Linked DNA regions of Homo sapiens: region 1 is linked to region 2. Evidence: promoter capture Hi-C in 16 types of primary human blood cells and fetal thymus (Javierre and others, 2016). All regions are on one chromosome and are shown on one strand. Each heading gives the region's core, a stretch centred on a gene start or on the middle of the fragment in contact. The rest is flanking DNA. Distances are from core to core; before and after follow the strand shown. Region 1 overlaps LIPH (lipase H). Region 2 holds the start of TTC14 (tetratricopeptide repeat domain 14).

Evidence for each region. Contacts are between HindIII fragments. The CHiCAGO score rates a contact against its expected background, and 5 or more counts as called.
Region 1: a fragment that was not itself captured here is called in contact with the fragment with the promoter of TTC14 in region 2 in 1 of 17 cell types (naive CD8 T cells); the score reaches 7.3 in naive CD8 T cells.

What each region holds. Positions count from the first base shown.
Region 1 is chr3:185,504,136-185,509,036 of GRCh38, forward strand. It overlaps LIPH (lipase H), which reads right to left. Exons shown (of 10, transcript NM_139248.3): 10 at 2,127-4,742. The coding sequence ends at 4,655. It overlaps TMEM41A-DT (TMEM41A divergent transcript), which reads left to right. Exons shown (of 3, transcript XR_924792.3): 3 at 128-609. Among named protein-coding and RNA genes, the nearest start is that of TMEM41A-DT, 7.4 kb to the left of the region's middle. The HindIII fragment of the contact is 5,838 bases long and covers 1-4,588 here.
Region 2 is chr3:180,600,408-180,605,292 of GRCh38, forward strand. TTC14 (tetratricopeptide repeat domain 14) reads left to right here and starts at 1,756. Exons shown (of 12, transcript NM_133462.4): 1 at 1,756-2,015; 2 at 2,484-2,608; 3 at 2,717-2,916; 4 at 3,818-3,902; 5 at 4,071-4,200; 6 at 4,445-4,600. The coding sequence starts at 1,855. TTC14-DT (TTC14 divergent transcript) reads right to left here and starts at 1,706. Exons shown (of 3, transcript NR_183700.1): 1 at 1,496-1,706. RefSeq lists an enhancer at 1,547-1,836. The HindIII fragment of the contact is 2,365 bases long and covers 1,412-3,776 here.

The DNA of each region.
Region 1 (4,901 bases), core at 420-2,919, 4.9 Mb after region 2:
CCCAAGGGTAGGAGGTTCTAAGTTTAGGACTTTAGAAATAACATTGTTAAGTGTGTTGATGTCTAAGTCAGAATGGAGGTGATTCCCTCAAGTTTCTAAGCATCATCCATTCCATTCTGTCCAACAGACATTTATCAAGCACCTACTCTGTGCCTAGCATTGTGCTAGGTGCTAGAGAGCCAAAAATAAATAGCAGCTGCTCTTGTGGAGGTCACAGTCTTGGAGGAGTTAAAGACACGGAAACAAATTACAACACAGCGTAACAGCAGTGACAGAAGCACGTATGATATGGTTTGACTGTGGCCCCACCAAATCTCATCCTGAATTGTAGTTCCCATAATCCCCACTTGTGGTGGGAGGGGCCCAGTCGGAGGTAATTGAATCATAAGGGTAGTTTCCCCCATGTTATTCTCGTGATAGTGAGTTCTCATGAGATCTGATGGTTTTATAAGGGGCTTCCCCCTTCACTCAGCTCTCATTCTTCTCTCTCCTGCCACCATGTAAAGAAGGATGTGTTTGGTTTCCCTTCCATCACGATTGTAAGTTTCCTGAGGCCTCCTCAGCCATGTGGAACTGTGAGTCAATTAAATCTCTTTCCTTTATAAATTACCCAGTCTTGGGTATTTCTTCATAGCAGCCTGAGAAGGGACTAATACAACATACGAAGTTGGCAGCAAAGTGAGTGGTGGAAAGGAGAGTCATGGAAAAGCAAACAAGGGAGGGTTATAACTACAGCTTGGCATCCTCCACTAATGTTGTAAGGTCCTGGAGCATTTTGGCAATGGTGCTAAAATGAGGATGTAAGGACAAAATCCCCTAGATTTTCGACAGGTGAGCTTGTGAGGTGTTGGGACCACCTGGAAGATGTGATAAGAAGTGACAAAGGGGCAGGGTGTAGTGGCTCACACCTATAATCCCAGCACTTTGGGAGGCCAAGGCAGGCAGATCTCCGGAGTTCAGGAGTTTGAGACCAGCCTGGCCAACATGGTGAAACCCTGTCTCTACTAAAAATACAAAAATTAGCTGGGCATGGTGGCATGTGCCTGCAAGCCCAGCTACTCGGGAGGCTGAGGCAGAATAGCTTGAACCCATGAGGTGGAGGTTGCAGTGAACTGAGATCAGGTCACTGCACTCCAGCTGGGCAACAGAGCAAGACTCCATCTCAAAAAAAAAAAAAAGTGACAAAGGAGCCAACTTCTCTCTTTTCCAGGAAGTCTGGGAAATGGGCTATTGGCCTCCAAAGATAATGGAGACAATAGTAATGAAGGTGTCTGGGAGAAAAGTCTAAGGCACAGAAGGTTAGGCACCCTCATGGAAACAGACTATGGCTAGGGTGGAGGGCAAGTCTTTACTCACAACTGAACATGGTTCCATGGGGCTCAGAAAATAACAAAGAGTGTTCATTTAATAAATGTTTCCTGAAAGCAGACTATATGGTAAGCACATGGCTCCTGCCTTGCAGAGCAGTCTAGTGGAGAAGACAGATATTTATCAAATAATCAGGCAAATAAAATAAAAAAAACAGGCTGGGTGCGGTGGCTCACGCCTGTAATCCCAGCACTTTGGGAGACCGAAGCAGGCAGATCACTTGAGGTCAGGAGTTTGACATCAGCCTGGCCAATATGGTGAAACCCCGTCTCTACTAAAAATACAAAAATTAGCTGGGCATGGTGGCACTGGCCTGTAGTTCCACCTACTTGGGAGGCTGAGGCATGAGAAACATTGGAACCCAGGAGGCAGAGGTTACAGTGAGCCAGGATTGCACCACTGCACTCCAGCCTAGGTGACAGAGTGAGATTCCGTCTCAAAAAAAAGAAAAAATGTTTAAAAATACAACTAAAAAGTGCTATGAAGGAGAGGTACAGTGTGGAACCTCTCTGTATGGAAATAAGGTCCAAGAAGACTCCCTGAGGAGGTGGCAATTGAGCCACGATCCAAATGATGAGTAGGAGGTCACCAGTGAAGAGGGGAGGGAAGAGGGTAGACTGTAATTTAATTGTGCTTTGAATTTGGCACTCAGACAGATATATGGTACTGAGAAAGAGAGGGGAAGAGAAGCAAGGATAACAAGAGACAGTCAAAAGTTCCAGGGGCCCTTGGAAGAAAGATTCTGAGAACAGAGTGGCCACAGTTATAACTGCCTTTATTTCTCCTGATCACTGTTACATGAAACTTACTGAAATTCATCTCCTCTCCGGTGAACAAACTTCCTTTCTTTATCCATTCATTCACCCATCTACCCATCCTACAGTGAGCCAGGTACTGAGAGCTAGGAGACCCACGAGCCTAGAGTTTACAAAGTAGTAGAAATTCTATTTCTGGCATTTTCTTGCTATTGTTTTGACTCCCTGCTTACCAGGAAAGAGAACAAAAAAGTGACTGTGCTGATCAAAACACAGACCAATAAAACTAAGAAGAAACCAGGGCTGCCGGGTACGATGGCTCACACCTGTAATCCCAGAACTTTGAGAGGCCAAGGCCAGTGGATCACAAGGTCAGGAGTTCAAGGCCAAGATGGTGAAACCAGGTCTCTACTAAAAATACAAAAATTAGCCAGGCATGGTGGGGGCGCCTGTAATCCCAGCTACTTGGGAGGCTGAGGCAGAGAATTGCTTGAACCCGGGAGGCAGAGGTTGCAGTGAGCCAAGATCGTGCCACTGCACTCCAGCCTGGGTAACAGAAGGAGACTCCATCTAAAAAAAAAAAAAAAAAAAAAAAAAAAAAACCAGGGCCTACAGCACACTGATCTCTCTATCCACAATTGCTGAGGAAATGTGAGAAGGAGGAGGAAGGATGGTAACATGTCCAAGAGCTTGTTCCACTCAGAGTTCAGTCATCCCTCACTTAAATAAAACAGACTCTGTATTTGCTGCAAATGTAAATCTGTAAGAAGATGTGCCACACAGGAATACATTTATAGATTTCTTTAATTTATGACATAGAGAATCCATTTTTGGCCGGGTGTGGTGGCTCATGCCTGTAATCCCAGCACTTTGGGAGGCCGAGACGGGTAGTCACCTGAGGACAGGAGTTCGAGACGAGCCTGGCTAACGTGGTGAAACCCTGTCTCTAATAAAAATACAAAAATTAGCCGGGTGTGGTGGCACATGCCTGTAATCCCAGCTACTCAGGAGGCTGAGGCAGGAGAATCAATTGAACCTGGGAGGTGGAGGTTGCAGTGAGCTGAGATCGTACCATTGCACTCCAGCCTAGGCAACTCCAAAAAAAAAAAAAGAGAGAGAGAGTCAATTTCTTCATAACAAAGGCTATTTTCACAGATAGCAGTTGAAGGAGCAATCACTTGGGTGAAGAGGAGGTGACTGGGCCTGTCACCTCCTTTTCACAGACCTTCCTGCAGTGGCCACAGCCATGGGACAGATCATGCCTCCCCTCACACTGGGCATCTGGCCCCAGGGATTGTCCTCCCTTCTTTCTGGCCTTGGCCTGACAGGACCTCTTGACTGGACTCCTGCTGTCATTCTAGATTTGCAGACAGCATCTACCTCCAGGGAAGCAAAGGATTCCTCAAACTGGAGTCTTCAGATTCTCCAAAAGCAAACCGGTTCATGTTTTGAATTCACGTGTTGGCAAAATAGGTGACAGCCTTGTTCCAAAAGGCTAACATTAATTACCTCTAATAGGATCGTGGACAGTATTTTTTTTTAATTTTGTATCTACGCATTTTCTAAATTTCCTTCAATAATCATAGATTACATTGGTAATAAAGAAACATAAACATTTCTTAAGGGTTGCTTAAAATGAGCGTTGCCTGTAAAGTGATCCTTCTCCACCTTAGGTGAAAAATAAGCTCTGCTTTTCCTTCCCTTGCCTCATGCTCCATCCCCTGTCCCCATGTGAAGAGGCTGCCCCACGGCTTCCTCGTCCTTCTTTCTTCATCCACTATCTAGTCCCAGCAGCCGCCCTCTTAGCTGTCAGTCCATCCCCATCTCCTCCAGCTCCTCCATGCTCCAACAGCACTTTAGAGAAGGCAGAGGGCCAGCACGTGGCTTTCTTGCCTTCCCTGAGCAAACAGCCCGAGAGAGAAGCTGGTGTTGATAGAGAGAGGCTCTCTTATTGCAAATTAGATAAGCCCAAATGTAAAAGCATATTCACATTTATCAAACATCTCATAGATGTGGCACCTATGGGATTTCAAAAAACCCTTCATAGATTTTTGCCTCCCAAACCCACACAGCAGCCCCATGAGGTAGACGTCAGTTTCGTTCCCTTCTACGTGTGGGAACTGGAGGAATGTGGCACGGAGAATGCAGAGTTGAGTCCACGGTGAGGCCTCCAGTCCGTCCTTCCCTTGAAGATGCTTGACCCGCAGCCGCGATGGGCAGAACCACCCGCGTGACAGGCAGCAGAATTGACAGGTCGGAACAAGGGAGGCCCCAGGACACAGCAGACACAGCGCTGCGCTGCTGCGAGCCTGGCTATTTCTGACTTGCCCTAGTTAGGGGCTCCTTCCCAGGATCGTTTTATAATCACAAGGTTGTTTGATGTACAATGTGACATCCATAGGACGCTACTGAAAAAAGCCTTGGTTTTTTTCATACTTTTTCTGCCTTGCAGAAAGGTGAGGTGAAGCTTTCAAACAGCCTGTGGTTGTAGCTTTCTTTCTATTATTTATGGCCATGTGTCCTGGCAACAGTTACAACTGCAACTCTGGGCAAAGAATAGGTTGGAAGACTGTTTCAACGTTTTCCATCAGGACAAGATCATACCGACACAGCTGAGGCCTGGGAAAATAAGACAAAATATCCTTGTAAATGAATTTATAAAAATGCAATGGTCTAGTAAATAATATTATATCCTTAAGATACAAAATTATTTAGCAATTGTTTTTAATATAGAAAACACTTACGGTGGCCAGGCACGGTGACTCATGCCTGTAATCC
Region 2 (4,885 bases), core at 506-3,005:
ACAAATCACATACTTATCAAGATGTCTATAATAATTTTTAGTGGTCAGCTTTCCTTTTCAGTGACAGCACTCTTTCCTAAAAACAACCATTCTCTAGAGTTATGGCTTAAAACAAGTCAGTCTGTACCATTTATTAAAGTTGATATGCCTATAGAAGCTTGAAATTTATTTATTTATTTATTTATTGAGACGGAGTCTCCCTCCGGCGCCCAAGCTGGACTGCCGTGGCGCGATCTCAGTTCATTACAACCCCCGCCTCCGGAGTTCAAGAGATTCTCGTGCCTCAGCCTCCCGAGTAGCTGGGACTACAGGCATGAGCCACCACGCTCGGCTAATTTTTGTATTTTTAGTAGAGACGGGGTTAGGCCATGGTGGCCAAGCTGGTCTCTGAACTCCTGACCTCAAGTGATCCACCCTCGGCCTCCCAAAGTACTGGGATTACAGGTGTGAGCCACCGTGCCTAACCCAAATTTATCTTTTACAGTTGCATTCTTGTTTGTTGCATTTTCTCAAGTCTCAAACTGTTTACCTATTTGCCTGGGTTTTCCACAAAACAGTGTGGCAGTATCGATTATGTTCTGGGCTAGATCTCCTATACAAAAGTGGTAACACAGTGAAAGGCAAGTTGATTTCCTCAAAGACACATGGTGGGAAGTGGAGAGACTAACTGTCACCGTTTATTTCTGTTCAAGAGGACTATACTGAACTATTTACACTGAACATATTTAAATGGTACAAATTTTATACTGGAATAAAACGAAGCTACATGATCTCAAAATTAGGGTTAGTTAGACCTTCCATATGATAAAATACTCAATCCAGCAACTCTGCCTGAGAAGACCAATTAATACTTCGTTTGGAATCCTAACTCTAGCCTCTTACTAGCTGTGTGCCATTGAGCAATTTACTGGGACTCTCTGAGCATGTTTCCTCGTTTTCTAAAATGAAAAAGTACAATAGCTACCATAGTGGTTAGGTTCTCAAGTCAGTAAGTAAGGGGATGGGGGACCTAAGTTGAAATTCCCTTTGAAAATCACTTGAATTGTCCATAAGAACAGTATATTGACTTTTGCGTACATACCACTATACAGTAAGTCCCACAGACACTAAATTTTGAGCAACCATTGAGATAAACTAAATAAGAAATGCATGTGTTCATTAGTTATTGTAAAACTTGAATGGCATATGCACGTGTGGAGACATTAAAGCCATCCTGGTTTTAGAATTCACAATCACTAACAGTAAATGGGGTATGGATGGAGAACACCACTCCAGGTGCTTAACAAATGTCCGTGTCCTTCCTTTCTTCTGCCCTTAAAACCACCTGGAAACCTTCCCGGAGCAGCCGGTTGAATGGGGTTACGCCAGAGACACAGGTATTGATTTACGCAGAGAGTACGTCGAGGGAAGAAGCTTGGAGACTCGTATAGGGTTCTTACCCTGGCACTGGCACTTAGAAGCACCTTGATGAATACGAAAAGGAATTATTATTTACCCTAGGTTACAGCTCGAGCTATTTCGACGTAATAACGATCCCACGTACACTTTAAAAAGCAAACTTCTCACATACATCACTTCCTGGAAGCCCTAGTCAGCCTTTAGCCCAAGCAATGCTGAGCCCAATCCTTCGGCCTTCCGTAGTCTCGCTCGGTTTCGCGAGATCGAGGCTGAGCTCCGCCGCGCCGCCGTGGGGGCGACCCCAGAACACTTCCGGGTGTAACTGGTTGTGCTGTCTGTGTACTTCCGGCAGCCTCCAGACAGTTTCTTCCGCTTCCTGTACCACCCGGCTCAAGTAGCGGACACGGAACAGGGAACTATCAGCCCGTCGGCCTCCGGGCCCTGCATTCTCTAGCCATGGACCGGGACCTTTTGCGGCAGTCGCTAAATTGCCACGGGTCGTCTTTGCTCTCTCTACTTCGGAGCGAACAGCAGGACAATCCACACTTCCGTAGCCTCCTGGGGTCGGCCGCCGAGCCAGCCCGGGGCCCGCCGCCCCAGCACCCGTTGCAGGGCAGGTAATGAGACGTTGGTGCCACTGCGCCACGGAAGAGGGGACGCAGCTCTGGCAGCCACTACCGCAGCCCCGGGTTTGCGTCTAGAGGAAGTGGAGCCGCGGCCGTGAGCACAGGACGATCGCGCGCTGGTGTCTTGGGCTGGGTGGACGGGGGGCGCTCCTGGGTTGTGCAATGCGGGATGCGGGCTGAACTTTTTCTCTGGCACTGCTTGGTAGAGGCGCAGATTCCTTAGCTAAAAATCCCTTGAGCTTTCCTATCTGAGTTGGAGGCGTCACTTTTTAAGTTTCCCCGCTCTCCACCTCCAGGTTGGTTAATGAGGGAATGCCTAGTTAAAACTTTTTGTCTGAGGTTGTATTGTCTGCAGCTTAGGATGGAGCGGAATGGGCGATGAAAGCCATAAGCAGAAGGTTAGAAGTAAAGAGGCTTTGCAGATAACCCAATTTTCATATATATTTTTTTCTTTTTAAGAAAAGAGAAGAGAGTTGACAACATCGAGATACAGAAATTCATCTCCAAAAAAGCGGATCTGCTTTTTGCACTTTCCTGGAAATCAGATGCACCTGCAACTTCTGAAATTAATGAAGACAGTGAAGGTCAGTTTAGCCTTAAAATCTTTAAGATTGCGGTTCGGTTTAACAGTACTTCAGGTGAAACGGAACTCAAAACTATCGTTAGTGATTTTGTTAATTTTTTTTTTTTAGATCATTATGCAATCATGCCACCTTTAGAGCAATTCATGGAGATACCTAGTATGGATCGGAGAGAGCTGTTTTTCCGAGATATTGAGCGTGGTGATATAGTGATTGGAAGAATTAGTTCTATTCGGGAATTCGGTTTTTTCATGGTGTTGATCTGTTTAGGAAGTGGTATCATGAGAGATATAGCCCACTTAGAAATCACAGTAAGTTATTTTTGTTACTTGGATTGCTTCTGTTTTTGTTAACGCATCTCAATGCAAGAACTATATCTTTGCATGCAGTTGTGCTCAAGTATACCTGCCAAGATGCTTTTGGAAATTAAATGTTAATTGGAGAAAAATAGTTTAAAAAAATTAGTGTAAGTTACCCAGTTTCTCCCTCCATTTCTGGTTTTTGGGATTTTTTAAATTTAAACTGGTTGGCAGGCACAGTGTTCTTTTCTAAATGCTCAAAGAGGTATCAGTGGACGTGGTGAGGTTGATTGATATTCAGACTTATTTCTTGTAGTTGAACATATGTATTCTTAATTAGTTAATATTTGGCATTGTATATTTTCATGTGGATAATTTGGAGAGAAGTTTCATTTATATATTTACAATAATTAAATGTAAGTGGTTTGTACATTATATTAAGATACTTTGCCCAAGATGGATAGTCCTGAATTTAAACTAATGTGTCACGATAAAAGATTGGGTATTTGCCATCTATCCAGGCAGATAAAAAGGAAGAAAAGCAGAAGGTATTACAGATTGGATAACAGACAAAATACTTTGGAGAATTGGCATTTCATTTTCACTGGAATCCTTATACCTTTTAGACAAATTTTAGTTTGTTTTTGATGCATGTTGTATACTGTCATAAGCCATCATATTTGGTTCCTAAACTAATGGAAAGTTTCATGAGATTTTAGTTTTTTAACTGAACCAGCAAACATATTTTACTGTGTTTGGACACGGAAATTACTTTTAACTAAATCCTTATTTAAATTTTTACTTTAGGTTGTTCAACTACTAGCTGTTTCATACCAAACAACTAAGATAAAAGAAGACACTGTTCTTATCAAAGCTTGAAATGTCTGGTGTTTTAAAATACTTCTCATTACAGGCTCTTTGTCCCTTAAGAGATGTGCCTTCTCACAGTAACCATGGGGATCCTTTATCATATTACCAAACTGGTGACATCATTCGAGGTGATTAGTTTCATCATACTAATAAAAAAGTAATGATTGTTGAATTTTTGTTTTTATTAATTTAAAAAAATACAGTCTAAGAGGGTAGTGTTTGGGAAAGTTTATATTTTTTATGTTAGTTTACATTTTCTTACTAATCAGCTTAGTTCTCTTTTTTTTTTTCTTAAGCTGGAATCAAGGATATTGACAGATACCATGAAAAGCTAGCAGTATCTCTGTATAGCTCTTCTCTTCCACCACACCTATCTGGTATTAAATTAGGTGTAATTAGCTCTGAAGAGCTTCCTTTATACTACAGGTAATTTATCCGTATTATTTCAACAACAGTTCATTACAAAAGTCTCTTGGATTGAGGAATACCACATTTTTATAACGGTTAAATTACTTCAGACTTGGTAAAAGGAAACCATATCATAATATTGCCACACCATCTTATGCAAAAAATGGAATTAGTATTTAAACCTCAAATGATATTATTTCTTTACTAGAAATGGAATGTCAAATTAGTCATTTTACAATTTTTGTGTTTGTATTTTTTTAAGGAGAAGTGTTGAGCTAAATAGCAATTCTTTGGAGTCCTATGAAAATGTCATGCAGAGTTCCTTGGGATTTGTTAATCCAGGAGTAGTTGAATTCCTTCTAGAAAAACTAGGAATAGATGAATCTAATCCACCATCTTTAATGAGAGGCCTACAAAGGTATAGTACATCAGTATTACTCTTAGATGGTGAGGGGAGTGGCAGTAAGCTCAGAAGCTGCGTTTAGCTGAAGGACGTATTTTACCATCCTAAGCCACCTAGTAGCAGGCATATGCCAAAGGTTGAATGAACCAGGTGATCCCATCTTCTGGACTGGACTGTCTTATCAGTGATTAATATGTGTACCATGTAACCAAGTAGAGAAGGATGCAGAAACTTTTTATAAGAATTTTGTGTGTATGCTAAAGAAAAATACTGGGTTTTTTTGTTTTTTGTTTTTGTTTT